Linked DNA regions of Homo sapiens: region 1 is linked to region 2. Evidence: promoter capture Hi-C in 16 types of primary human blood cells and fetal thymus (Javierre and others, 2016). All regions are on one chromosome and are shown on one strand. Each heading gives the region's core, a stretch centred on a gene start or on the middle of the fragment in contact. The rest is flanking DNA. Distances are from core to core; before and after follow the strand shown.

The links. Contacts are between HindIII fragments. The CHiCAGO score rates a contact against its expected background, and 5 or more counts as called.
Region 1: a contact is called between a fragment that was not itself captured here and the fragment with the promoter of APPL1 in region 2, in 1 of 17 cell types (M0 macrophages). The highest score is 6.8, in M0 macrophages.

The regions. Positions count from the first base shown.
Region 1 is chr3:56,690,952-56,698,164 of GRCh38, forward strand. No RefSeq gene overlaps it. Among named protein-coding and RNA genes, the nearest start is that of TASOR, 11 kb to the left of the region's middle. The HindIII fragment of the contact is 1,255 bases long and covers 1,795-3,049 here.
Region 2 is chr3:57,225,274-57,232,588 of GRCh38, forward strand. It overlaps APPL1 (adaptor protein, phosphotyrosine interacting with PH domain and leucine zipper 1), which reads left to right and starts at 2,456. Exons shown (of 22, transcript NM_012096.3): 1 at 2,456-2,664. The coding sequence starts at 2,611. It also overlaps a transcript of HESX1 not described here. RefSeq lists a silencer at 2,254-2,913. The HindIII fragment of the contact is 8,451 bases long and covers 1-6,788 here.

The DNA.
Region 1 (7,213 bases), core at 1,172-3,671, 530 kb before region 2:
ACAGGGGCTAGAAGATAGAGATGGGAGAGACTTTTCCCTCTATGTCCTTTCATACTTTTCATGTAAAAGACAGGTTAAAAAAAAATATATATATATATATATTCTTTTTTTTTTTTTTGAGACAGGGTCTCCCTCTGTCATGTCATGGCTCACCCAGCCTTGACCTCGTGGGCTCCAATGATCCTCCTGCCACAGCCTCCGAGTAGCTGGGACTACAGGTGTGTACCACCATACCTGGCTAATTTTCTTATTTTTTGTAGATATTGGGGTCTTACTGTGTTGCCCAGACTGGTCTCAAACTCCTAGGCTCAAGCAATCCTCCTGCCTCAGCATCCCAAAGTGCTAGGATTATAGGCATAAGCCACCATGCTTGGCCAAAAGATGTGATTTTTGATGCTCACATATATCTTGAGCCTTGTAGGTCACACAGCTAGGAGGCTTTTTGTTTTTTAACATTTTCATTTAAAGACAGTAGTAAAGATAATAAAGTCCAGTCAACAAAAAAGTACCACTAACATCTAATTCATAGAACTTTAAGGATCTTAATTAGTTTGATTCATTTTATGGATGAAGAAAATATTACAAGGTTACAACTCCACTGTCCATTCAGATGCATTAAAAAATGTGAAATTGTCATTCCCTCCATATATTGAGCAACAATAATTCTACTTCCAAGGAGTCATCCTCTTTCCCCAAAGGGTTTTTCTGGTTACTCATTGAGCAAATATTTCTTAGGTGTGTCCTAGTGAGAGGTGACAGCGTGCTAGCAGTCCTCACAGCCCTCACTGGCTCTGGGCGCCTCCTCTGCCTGGGCTCCCAATTTGGCGGCACTTGAGGAGTCCTTCAGCCCACCGCTGCACTGTGGGAGCCCCTTTCTGGGCTGGCCAAGGCCAGAGCCAGCTCCCTCAGCTTGCAGGGAGGTGTGGAGGGAGAGCCGCAAGCGGGAACCCGGGCTGCCCGCGGCGCTTGCTGGCCAGCTGGAGTTCCGTGTGGGCGCGGGCTTGGCGGCCCCACACTCGGAGCAGCCGGCCGGCCCTGCCGGCCCCGGGCAATGAGGGGCTTAGCACCCGGGCCAGTGGCTGCGGAGGGTGTAGTGGGTCCCCCAGCAGTGCCAGCCCACCGGCGATGCGCTCGATTTCTCACCCGGCCTTAGCTGCCTTCCCACGGGGCAGGACTCAGGACCTGCAGCCCGCCATGCCTGAGCCTCCCACCCCCTCCATGGGCTCCTGTGCTGACCCGAGCCTCCCCGATGAGCGCCGCCCCCTGCTCCACGGCGCCCAGTTCCATCGACCACCCAAGGGCTGAGGAGTGCGGGCGCAAGGGGCGGGACTGGCAGGCAGCTCCACCTGCAGCCCCAGTGCGGGATCCACTGGGTGAAGCCAGCTGGGCTCCTGAGTCTGGTGGGGACGTGGAGAACCTTTATGTCTAGCTCAGGGATTGTAAATACACCAATCGGCACTCTGTATCTAGCTCAAGGTTTGTAAACACACCAATCAGCACCCTGTGTCTAGCTCAGGGTTTGTGAATGCACCAATCGACACTCTGTATTTAGCTACTCTGGTGGGGCCTTGGAGAACCTTTGTGTCCACACTCTGTATCTAGCTAATCTAGTGGGGACGTGGAGGACCTCTGTGTCTAGCTCAGGGATTGTAAACGCACCAGTCAGCGCCCTGTCAAAACAGACCACTTGGCTCTACCAATCAGCAGGATGTGGGTGGGGCCAGATAAGAGAATAAAAGCAGGCTGCCCTAGCCAGCAGTGGCAACCTACTCGGGTCCCCTTCCACACTGTGGAAGCTTTGTTCTTTCGCTCTGCAATAAATCTTGCTACTGCTCACTCTTTGGGTCCACACTGCTTTTATGAGCTGTAACACTCACTGCGAAGGTCTGCAGCTTCACTCCTGAGCCAGCGAGACCATGAACCCACCAGAAGGAAAAAACTCCGAACACAGCCGAACATCAGAAGGAACAAACTCCAGACGTGCCACCTCAAGAGATGTAACACTCACCGCAAGGGTCCGCGGCTTCATTCTTGAAGTCAGTGAGACCAAGAACCCACCAATTCCGGACACACTAGGGAAGCCTGAAAAAGACCCTCTTAATTTGGCAAGAAACCATGTTGAAGTTGATTCCTGGTTAATGACTGGAAGAAAAACTTCCATGCAATGAGGAGAAGCAACAAAAGGGAGAAATTCAATTGAAAAAAAGAATATAGTTAGCAATGAACAAGAAGCAAGTGTCCTCTCACCAACACAGCTGACTCTGGTAACCACAAACCTCAGCTAAACCCAGAAGTCAAGAGCTGTCACTTAAGTTTTGTTTCATTTCTGAGTGAAACCCTTCTAAGACTTTATTACATGCAATGCCATGGATTAATGTCATAGACATAATGTTAAATGAAAGACGTACTGTATGATCCCATTTACATGATGTTCAAGGACAGACAAAAATAATCTATGGTAATAAAAGAATTGTGGTTCCCTTGTGGGGGTGAAGATGTACTGTATGATCCCATTTACATGACGTTCAAGGACAGACAAAAATAATCTATGGTAGTAAAGGAATTGTGGTTCCCTTTTTGGAGTGGGGGTGGTAGGTAATTGACTCAAAGGGGACATGAAGGAACTTTCTGGAATGATGGAAATGCTCTGTATCTTGATCTGGGTGGTAGTTATACAGACAGGGGCATACACATATAAGTATTCATTGAACTGTATGCATAGAGTTGCATTTTATTCTGTGATGTTATTCTTCAATTAAATAAACAAAAACAAAACTTTTCTATGGATTCTCATTATTCCAGGGACAAAGATAAGAATTCTTCATGTGGGCAATGGACCCTTACTGATTCTGACCTTTGCCTGCCTTTCCATCTTGCACTTCACTTCCCTAAGCTCCTCCTTGGTTCTTCCTATGTCTGGCACACTTGCCAAACTCCCTGGCCATGCAATCAACCTCAGCACATGATATGTTTCCTGTGTGGGATGTTATTCTTCCCCGTGCCACCCTCTTCTCCAGTTCCAGTAAGCTACTGCACTTCCTTTGGCTGAAGCTTCACTTCCCTGTGTGAACTTCTTTCATAATCGGCCCCCCATTCTAGGTCGAGTTCCCCATTGGATGCTCTTACAGAATTTTGCTCCTTTTACTCAGACCATTTACCTCCCAATTTCCTCAATTTGTAATTACTCCCTCATTTGTGGGACTATTTAATTAAATCTGTCTCTCTCACTACAGTCTGTGCCATACCATGGACTGAGGGTCAATGTCTGGGTTCTGCTTACCATGGTATCCCCAGGGCTCACCACAGTGCCTGGAACACAGTAAGTGTTTACTAAATATGTTTTTGGGCCGGGCGCAGTGGCTCACGCCTGTAATCCCAGCACTTTGGGAGGCCAAGGCAGGTGGATCACGAGGTCAGAAGATCAAGACCCTCCTGGCTAACAGGGTGAAACCCCATCTCTACTAAAAATACAAAAAAAAAAAAAAAAACTTAGCCAGGCGTGGTGGCGGGCACCTGTAGTCCCAGATACTTGGGAGGCTGAAGCAGGAGAATGGCGTGAACCTAGGAGGTGGAGCTTGCAGTGAGCTGAGGTCACGCCACTGCACTCCAGCCTGGGCGACAGAGCTAGACTTAAATAAATAAATAAATATGTTTTTGACTCCTGAGGATAAAGTGACTATCTGATATTCTCTGGCAGAAAAATTGTTGATGTCTCACATTACGTGATTTGGATTTATCCCCATTAAATGTTTGGTATATCTTGCTTTAAGCAAACTGAATCCATTATATGGAAATCTGTATTTATTCAAAATATAAATTAGAGTGCATGTACTCAAATGCCTGTTACGAGATTTATACAAGTTCCAGGTGTTTTTTACTGCATTTGAAAAATAGATGAGCTTCATTTGCCAAATTCAAGCCTAGTTGAAATCAATAGGGTTTAAGAATTGGAAGTGATGGTTTTCTTCTATCAGCTGACTGGCCAGTATAGACGCAGTTATAGAGTCATTTACACCACTGCCATTATCATCTGAACAAAGATCTAAATTTATACTAACTTCACGTTGTGGTTGGTGGAGCTCTGTAAGTAAGAAGGAGGCTGGTGCCAACAATCCAAGTTACACAAAGAGAAAAAAAATGCTCAAGAGGAAGTGGTACACTACAAAAGTGCAAACGTAGGTGGAATGTGTGAAAAAAAAAATTTTCAAATTAAAAGTGTCTTCGATTTTATGTTTTTATGATAAAAGAGGCCAAAAGAAAGTTGTCTGGAACTTCCTATTTTCAAGATAACCCATCTCAGCACTCAATTTGGAAGACAGTGAATAAGTTGGAGGAAAAGAAGTAACAATACAGAGAGAACATGTGAATAACACCTTGCAATTTACCAAATGCTTCACTTATTCTCTCAACCTGCTACCAGGCCCTAAGATGGGCTTCTGAGGTTACAGCTGTAAACAAGCAGATCCATCCTGACCCTGTTTGTTTTCTGATGCTTCTATACCCATTGCCTCATTTAATCTTCCCAGCATTGTCAGAGAAACATTGTTACATTTGTCAGATGAGGAAATGGTAACTTAACTGCCTTGCTCAAGGAAACATCACCAGTAAGTGAGGGAACAGGACTCAGATTTGCCTCCTAAATCTAATTGCAAACCCTTGCAACTACCCCAGTTCTACTTGCTTATAGGCCTCTGGGATGGCTACTTTGTTAATCAAGACTCTCAATGGAAATCAAGAAAAATTACAAAGTTACCCACTGGGCATTTTAATCATTCCTCTATGTATCATTTCTCTCCCTTGTTTTGTCCTTTCATTTTTCTGAGTGAACAGGAATATTCCCACCAACTCCCTTAAAAACACAAGTTTCTTCACTAATTTCTCGTAGCTCCTACAGATTTATATATGATTTCTGGGCAGACAGAAGTAATCAAAGTCATCCAATTTCTTTGGCTGACCAATAACTAAATTGAGAGCTGCTTCCCTTTTAAGTCACATGATTCAGGTTATTGTTTTATTATTTGGTGCTTCATAGTACCAGAAAGGTATTCAGACTTAATTTTGGACATTTTCTCCCCAGTCCATAAAAGCCTGGTAATAAAAAGATATTTGACATGACCTTTTGCTATATGGTTGGTGCTACAAAATGCTGATTTTAAGAGAAATTAGCAAAAGTACATCAACATATGAAGAGATGAACAAGATATCTTACATTTATACAATGGAATATTATTTGTCCATAAAAAGGAGTGAAGAACTGATACATCCTGCAACATGGATGAACCTGGAAAATACTGTGCTAAGAAAAAGAAGCCAGTCACAAAATGCTGCATATGGTATGATTCTGTTTATAGGAAATGTCCAGAACAGGGAAATCAATACAGACAGAAATTAGATCAGTGGTTTCCTAGGGCTAGGTTAATGAGGGAATTTGGGGATGATAGCTAAAGGGTACAGGTTCTTTTTAAGGTGATGAAAATGTAGTTGCATAATTCTGTGATTATCTTAAAGACGATTGAATTGTATGCTTTAAGTCAGTGAATTGTATGGTGCATGAATTATATCAATGAAACTTTTTTTTTTCATGTCTGACGGGTAATGTGCTGAAATTTATGAACTACCAAAGGATCTAAAACCGGTTTTTTATTATTTTTTATTTTTATTTATTTATTTAATTTTTTTGAGACGGAGTCTTGCTCTGTAGCCCAGGCTGGCATGATCACAGCTCACTGCAAACTTGAACTCCTAGCCTCAAGTGATCCTCCCACCTCGGCCACCCAAAGTGCTGGAATTACTTACAGGCGTGAACCCCCACACCCAGCCTTAAACTGTTTTTTAAAAAAGGAGGTTGATATAGTGTTCCACTAATAGCTTGGGGGAAATTCTTTCTCAGGTATATAATACAGGAAGTTATTTGACAGGCAACTATGCTTAAATTTATGTTAATTGTGTAGAAAGAACTGAGTAAATCATTTCCTGTTTTCTCTCCACCTGCCCCCACCAAAAAAAGAAAAGAAAAAATTCTAAATTTGACCAATACAATAATAGCAAGATAACGCAAAGATTACAATGGGATATGGCCTGGGTCAATTAAAGCACCAGCAATTGGCATTGGACCCTCCACCTTATGCATGTCTATATCCAGCCATGATGTGAATATGTGAGTAGCAAAAGTGCTAGCTGTGTCTTTTCCTGATTTTTTTTTTTTTTTTTTTTTTTTTGAGATGGAGTTTCACTCTTGTTGCCCAGGCTGGAGTGCAATGGCGCCATCTCAGCTCACTGCAACCTCCACTTCCCAGGTTCAAGTGATTCTCCTGCCTCAGCCCCCAGAGTAGCTAGGATTACAGGCATGCGCTACCACGCCTGGCTAATTTTGTATTTTTAGTAGAGACAGGGTTTCTCCATGTTGGTCAGGCTGGTCTCGAACTCCCAACCTCAGGTGATCCACCCGCCTCGGCCTCCCAAAGTGCTGGGATTCCAGGCGTGAGTTACCGTGCCTGGCTCTTTTCCTGGTTTTTATATTTTAATGATTCGTATTAGAGTTAATTCACATTAACCCTCTTCAAAAAGAACATTAAACCTAAAGCCCAGTGACTTAACAACATTAAATATTCCAGATTCTTTTCCCCAAAAAGTTCCATTTCAACTCTTGGAAACAAAAAGTTAGATAATGGTTTGGCTTTAAATGCCTCATTTCAAATGTCCTTCCCCATAATACTCCCAAGTGAAAAAAATATTTTTTCCCAATTATTTTTTCATTTAATGTAAAACATTCCAGTTAAAAGAGATTCTCAAAAATAGAGCTTTACAAAAAATACGAGTTCAAGTTTCAGTACCCTACCCTTCCCCCACCCCCGGCCCAGTGGCTCTGAAAAGATAGGCAATTAATAATAAGTTTTTTCCTAAGAAATCTTTGGGGAACCAGCCAAGTTTAAATAGGGTAATTGGTAGGTCTATGGTTGCAATTTACATAAATTATAGAAACATAACACCAGACATTTATCTAATTGAAGAAAATGTGGTGTTCAGTTACTTATCTAGAGGAATTCTACTTGCAGTTTGTGCCATTTGGTGATTAGTCCATTCTCTTGAGAATCTGAGTTGCTCTAGAGACAGAATATATGATAATAATGGTCCAAAAAATCAGTTTTGCTTACTTAGCAACAACAAAAAATATATATTAAAAATAAAATACTATTCATATACATTTCCTTGA
Region 2 (7,315 bases), core at 1,206-3,705:
AAAACTAGATTTGACTAAACCTACCTCTCCATCCAACTGAATGTGAACCTGTTTTTGTTTGTTTTATTTTTTCATTTTTATTTATTTTTTGTTTTTGAGACAGAGTTTCGCTCTGTCGCCCAGGCTGGAGTGCAGTTTCGGCTCACTGCAACCTCCACCTCCCGGGTTCAAGCGATTCTCCTGCCTCAGCTTCCCAAAGAGCTGGAACTACAGGCGTGTGCCACCATGCCCAGCTAATTTTTGTATTTTTGGTAGAGACGGGGTTTCACCAGTTGGCCAGGATGGTCTCCATCTCTTGACCTCTTGATCCGCCTGCCTCAGCCTCCCAAAGTGCTGGGATTACAGGCGTGAGCCCCACCGCGCCCAGCCTGTTTTATTTTTTAACCAGCTGAGTCCGGCAAGAATTCCTTGCCATTCTGCGATAATGTAATGGCCTCTTGAGAGTCCTTTACAGAAACACAGTTTAGATGTACATAACATACTAAGAAGGAAACCATTTAACTTGACAATACCACACCCAGATAATTCAGATAACTAATCGAATTTTTCATCGGAATTATTTGGTTTGGCCAAGTTAATTAGGTAACAAATACTTTTCTTTTCTTTTCTTTTTTTTTTTTTTTTTGATACGTAGTCTTGCTCTGTCGCCCAGGCCGGAGCGCAGTGGTATGATCTCAGCTCACTGCACCTGGGCCTCCCGGCTTCAACTGAGTCTCCTGCCTCAGCCGCCTGAGTAGCTGGGACTACAGGCACGCCACCACGCCCGGCTAATTTTTGTATTGTTAGTAGAGACTGGGTTTCGCCATGTTGGGCAGGCTGGTCTTGAACTCCTGACCTCAGGTGATCCAGCTGCCACGGCCTCCCAAATTGCTGGGATTACAGGCGTGAGCCACAGCGCCAGGCCTTTTTTTTTTTCTTTCTTATACATTGTTTACACTCCTCACTTACTCCTGATTCTTAACAGTTGCCACAACCTTTCTTCATTTAAAATCTAACTCAGTTCAATCAGGAAGGTCACTTACCTTGAAAGTCTTCCTTCTTTAGAGCTGGGGTGCATGGTGTTCTTGTTGGCAGAGTAGAAATGAGATATCAAGGAAAAAGAAACTGTAACACAACTGGGAACCCTTAACTCATTGTAAGAACTGCCTCCAAATCAACTTCCTCAAAAACTAAAGAACTCTTCGGGAGAGAGAGACTGGCTGATAAACAATCTAAGGGGAAAACTTTTAAAGATTGTAACACTAAAAATAATTCCGTAAAACTACAATGCAAGTCTACTCAACAAAACTTTAAAAATATAATTTTATTTTTCTTTCAAGAGATCATGGGAAAATCTACTATTTTCGTTTAAAATATATAACTTCTATTTGTTACTATATTTGGATTTGAGCTACTACTATTCTGGATTTGTTCCCATGTATCTGTGGAACCAGGCAGCTAATTAATCTTTACTCAGCATCTCTGGTATTTCTTGAATGAAAATGGAATGGATTGGTGGAATTAATGGCTAGATGTTTAGAAGACACTACTTACTTTGTTATTTTCTCTGTATAATGATGAAAGCCTACAACTATACAGAGACATAAACGAGCCAGGGTGACAGGTTGGGAAAGATGAAGAGGGAGGAGGAAAGGATAGGCTTGTAGCCCTCATCCGGTCAAATTCCCAACTTTGAGCTTCACTTTATTGTAAAATTAGAGGCTAAAACTATTTAACGCTTCCAAAACTTTTTGATTCAACAAATGCCAATTAGTTACTAACATAATTAATCAGTGTATCCTGATTTTTAAAAGATATTTTCCTTTGTGATTTAAAAGAAACATGGGAGTTGGAGTTGCAGCGTCAGTCCTGAAGGACTGACCTCGGGAGGCCAGGTAGGAACTGATAAACTGGCAACAAAATCACATGTTTTCAACTGAATATACTGATATTCAAGCGTCCAGAAAAACAATTTCGAGCCTACGTTCACAAGTTTGCCAGAAAGCCCTATTATTGACACAGCTGCGGATCTCAGACATCTGAGTTAGTCAGCACCATTCTGCTGGAGGGGATTAAGACTGGACGCTTCGAGCGGAGTTGGGAATGTTATCATCTGAGGAAACTAAAAGGCGCCAGCAGTAGGACTTTCTCCAAGGTCTCTGACAAAATATGTTGCGGGAAAAGTCAACCCGCCCCAAATTCCCCCGTGTGGCCCTAACTCGAGGCTCTGGCTCCTCGCGCCGGCAAGCTGAGGAAGAGACGGTCCCCTGCGATTTAGATACAAACGCGCGCGTGCAGGGAAGGCCATCCCAGGGCAGACACTGCCACCTCCGCCGCTTCCGACGCCCGCGCTCGCGGGAGAGCCTAGCGCCGCACGGGAACCTCCCGACCACCGCCGCAGCGCGGATGGGCGTCCCCGGGAGCCAATGGACGCGCCGGGAGGCGGGGCAGGGAGGCCGAGGGGGCGGGATTTCCCGCACGGCCGCTCGGCGCCTGGAGAAGGCTGTGCGGGCGGGGACGGCTGCAGCCCTTGCCGGAGAGGGCGGGCCGGGGTCAGCTGCGGCGGGCGGGCCGGCGCGGGGAGCTGTGGGCGGCAGCTGCGTCTCCTGCCACCGCCCTCCCTCCGCCACGATGCCGGGGATCGACAAGCTGCCCATCGAGGAGACGCTGGAGGACAGCCCGCAGGTGAGGCGCGGGAGCTGGTGGGCGACGAGGGAGAGCCCAGCTGGCCGACCCCAGGTCTGGCGCCTCCGCGGCTCCCGCAGGTGCCCGCCCCGGCCCAGGTGGGGGCCGCCGCCGCCCTAGGTCACCGCCCGTCGCAGGCCGCGCCCGGAGTTGTGGAGGCTGGGCCCGCCGCCCAAGGCCCGCGTGGGCCTGCTCGGCTGGGCCGAGGGCCGCAGGCGGAGACCGAGCCGCTGGTGCTCGTGGGCCGGGCGGTCACGTACGCGCGCGGGTCCTTTTTATTTGACGAAAGGCGCCGTTTTTATCGCGGTGATGTGAGGTGCCAAATCTCGATCCTGGAATTTTCTCCCTGAGAACCTCTTCAGAAAAATTGCAGAAGGGAGAGAAACCCCGATAGTCTTATTTAATGATTTCCGAGGCTCAGCAAGCTAAGGAAGGAAATGGATCGTTTTTCTTTGGGAGAGGCTGTAAGGTTGTGTGTGGAGCCCTAATGGCAAAGCCCGTGACGGGTCCCGGAGCCCAAGACCGCTCTCCCCGCCGAATGTGCCCGTGTCGCGGCCGTGACTGTGGTCGCTGTCACTCGAGCTGTGCACGGCGAGGGATGGACGGTGCCTTCGCCGCTCCGCGACTGCTGCGCTGCTCCCTGCAGACTTGGCCTTAATAAACTCATCAAAATAAAAGCCCTGTGTTCTGTGCGTCGGAATGATGCTGATGTGGTTGCTCTAGCTTAAGACAGTTTTGGAAAATGTAACCATTTAATATGTTTTCAGTACTGCAGAATGAAAGCAGCTATATTTTTTAAAATGTTGGCAGGGGCTGTAACTTGCATAGGGAAAACTTCATCTCTAAGCCGTTTTACACGATAATTTAAACGGTTTAAGACGGTGTTGCTGGTTGGACACTATTTAGAATGAAACATTTCTGAATTGTTGCTGATTTAGAAATGCAGTTGCACCATTTCGTGTGTCTTTACAGTTGAACATGGCCCCCAAAGAAGAAAAGCAGAAGAGGTCTAGATCTCCTTTTCCTGGATGGCACTTCTGCCATGGATTTTGTGCCAATGTTAATTGCCAAGTTGAAATGGGGCTCTGATTGTAGAATTGATTTGTTCTTTTTTATTCTGAAAGTTATCTTCACAGGCCAGTTGCCTGCTGCTAATGTACTCTTAACAGCTGATAGTGACAAAAAGAGAAACTCACATTTGGTTTATCTTGACTGCCAGTATACTCGGTTCAATTTTTTTCTTGATGATTTCTCCATATAAAGTTATAAACTGTATTTGTTTCAGATGATTTGCAAAAAGTTTGTGGAATTGGTCAGGTGTACTTTGTCATTTTACTTTTTATTATGTAAGATTCAACAGGTTGCCTTACCTTTCTTCTCTTACTTGGCTTTTTTTTTTAATAGCCCATAAAGACTATAAACGGCTCAGAATGGATTGCACACTGCCCTGGAAATGACTTGTGAGGCAGAGATAAACTCTTGACTCATCTAATGTCTTGAGGTTTTTGCCAGATTAGTTTACAACTTAAGAATTGTGGTTTTTTTTTTTCTTTACAAGCATGCATCATACTAGTGTCCGTTTTACAATATATTTGTTTGTTTTTTGAGATGGGGATCTTGCTATGTTTCCCAGTCTGGAGAGCAATGGCTGTTCACAGACACTATCGTAGTGCACTGTGTCCTGGAACACCTATGCTGAAGTGATCCTCCTGCCTCAGCCTCCCTAGCAGCTGGGAATACAGGCGTGTGCCACTGTGCCAGCTTTTTTTTTTTTTTTTTTTTTTTTTTTTCCTGAGACGGGGTTTTGCTCTTGTTGCCCAGGCTGGAGTGCAATGTTGCAATCTTGGCTCACTGCAACCTCTGCCTCCCGGGTTCAAGTGATTCTCATGCCTCAGCCTCCTGAGTAGCTGGGATTACAGACGTGTGCCACCACGCCCACCTAGTTTTTGTACTTTTTGTAGAGACGGGGTTTTGCCATGTTGGCCAGGCTGGTCTCGAACTCCTGACCTCAGGTGATCTGCCCGCCTTGGCCTCTCAAAGTGCTGGGATTACAGGTGTGAGCCACTGCGCCTGGCCTGTGCCAGCTAATTTTTAATGAAGTAGACACATTGATATCCCTTCAATGTTGAAAGGCAATAAATTTGAACTAGGTAAAATTTACTTGGGAAAATTAATTGGTACAACTGGGATTTAGGAAGTGTACATACTTGGAGGTGATTCTTAGGTCGAACCTGTGGCAGAATGCAAAGCCTTGGATCTAGGGTTGACGAGGTTTTTAGTCATCACTGCCACTTTACTACCTTCTGCTTTAGGGCAAATCATTCAACTTCTCTGAACCTCAGCTGTTGTGTCTTAATGACATGTTTTTATTTTTGACCCTGATTAAAAAGAAATAATAGTTGCTTCCTTCAGAAAAATTGGAAGGTCCAGAAAAGAATAACACACAATTACCTGTTGGTTACCCAGCAAAACCTTATTAACAGTTTGCTTTCTTTATTCTACTGTTTTTTTTTTCTTCTACATGTTTTAATGGAATTGAGATTATATTGTGCATAATGATCTTTATCCTGCTTTTAACTTAACATTATCACTTAAGTATCTTCACATGTTTTTACATTCCAAATAAAAACATTTGAAGACCACACATTTCCTTAACTGATTTCACAACCCTTTGCTGGACTTTTAGAGTTTTCCCAAAGTTTTGCTTTTATAAATAGGGCTGAGATTAATGCTTTGGAGCATAAATTTTCTTCTCAGTTTGAACTATTTTATCTAGAATAGAGTCCAAGAAGCAGAGCAGCAAAGAATATGAAGACTTTTAAAGCTCATGGTAAGTTTTTTGTTTTTTTTTTGAGACAGAGTCTCACTGTCACGTAGGTTGGATTGCAGTGGCACAGCCATAGCTCTGAAACCTCAAACTCCTGGGCACACGCCACCAAGCTCAGCTAATTTTATTTTATTTTATTTTTATTTTTTGGAGATGGAGTTTCGCTCTTGTCGCCTAGGCTAGAGTGCAGTGGCATGATCTTGGCTCACTGCAACCTCCACCTCCCGGGTTCAAGTGATTCTGCTTCCTCAGCCTCCCAAGTAGCCCAACTAATCTAAAAATTTTTTGTAGAAGACTGGGCGTGGTGGCTCATGCCTGTAATCTCAGCACTTTGGGAGGACGAGGCAGGTGAATCACGAGGTCAGGAGTTTGAGACCGACCTGGCCAACATAGTGAAACCCCGTCTCTCCTAAAAATACAAAAAATTAGCCGGGCGTGGTGGTGGACGTCTGTAATCCCAGCTACTCGGGAAGCTGAGGCAGGAGAATCACTTGAACCCGGGAGGCGGGGGTTGCAGTGAGCCGAAATTGTACCGTTGCACTCCAGCCCGGGCAACCGTGCGAGACTCCGTCTCAAAAAAAAAAAAAAAAAAAAAGAAAATTTTTTTTTTGTAAAGACAGGTTTTCACTATGTTGGCCAGGCTAGTCTTGAACTCCTGGCCTTAGTGCTGGGATTACAGATGTGAGCCACTGTACCAGGCCCTAAAAGTTTTTTGTTTGATTAGTTTTTAATTTTTTTTAGATCATTTAGATCTAATCAAAAGTGGCCTGCCAGTTGCTACCTAAAAAAGAGCCTTGGCCTGGCACAGTGGCTCATGCTTGTAAACACTTGAGGGTGGGGGTTCAAGACCACCCTGGGCCAAATAGCAAGACCTCATCTCTACAAAAAATAAAATTAGCTGGGCGTGGTGGCATGCACCTGTAGTCCCAGCTATTCAGGAGGCTAGGGCAGGAGGATCGATTGAGTCCAGGAGTCTGTGGCTGCAGTGAGCTATGATCACACCACTGCACTCCAGCCTGGGTAACAGAACGAGGCTTTGGCTCTTAAAAAAAAAAAAAAAAAGAGCCTGGGAGTGATGGAAGACTATCCTGAATTACAGTTACCCTTCTTTTAGTTTTGATTTATAGTAACTACGTATTAAATTAGGGAGAATTTGCAAGTCCAAAATCCAGCTGATCAAACAAGCATCTTTTAAGAATACTGCCTGGAACCTAGGTGGGGAAAAAGCATGTTTGGAATTACCTTGCCCAAACCAGACAGTTCTGCAAAAGATCATCCATTGAGCCAGAAAATCTTAAGCTTATAGTAGATGCCTTGTCCATATTTATATGTTGTTTTGAAAATCAAAATCAAAATAAACCTTGTTAATTACTAAGAACAGATAATGATCTTTAGAAAATTAATTGATTTTATATGTAGATATGTATCTTAGTGATTCATCTATGATAGAACAGTGAAGACAAACCCCAGTCCCAAATGGGATCTTCTGTTTTTGCATAATATGAATTAATCATGAGATGTGCCTTTCCTCCCAACATTTTGATGTCTCTGATTGGGATTCCTCTTAGAGTTGATGGTATATTAACAATTGCTATCAGCCAGGTAGCAGTAGTAATGTATTTCACATTGCCTGCAAATGTACATACTTGGTTGTTTCTCCTAGTAGCATACTGGCCAAGTGTAGTCTCTCAGTGTTCAACTAACAGATCAATTTTGCCACCATTTGAGAAAGGAATATCAGTCCTGGTTGTTGTCCGAAAACCTTCTTTTGACACCTGGTGAGATGTCAAATGACATCATCAAAATTTGCTGAATGAGTATCAG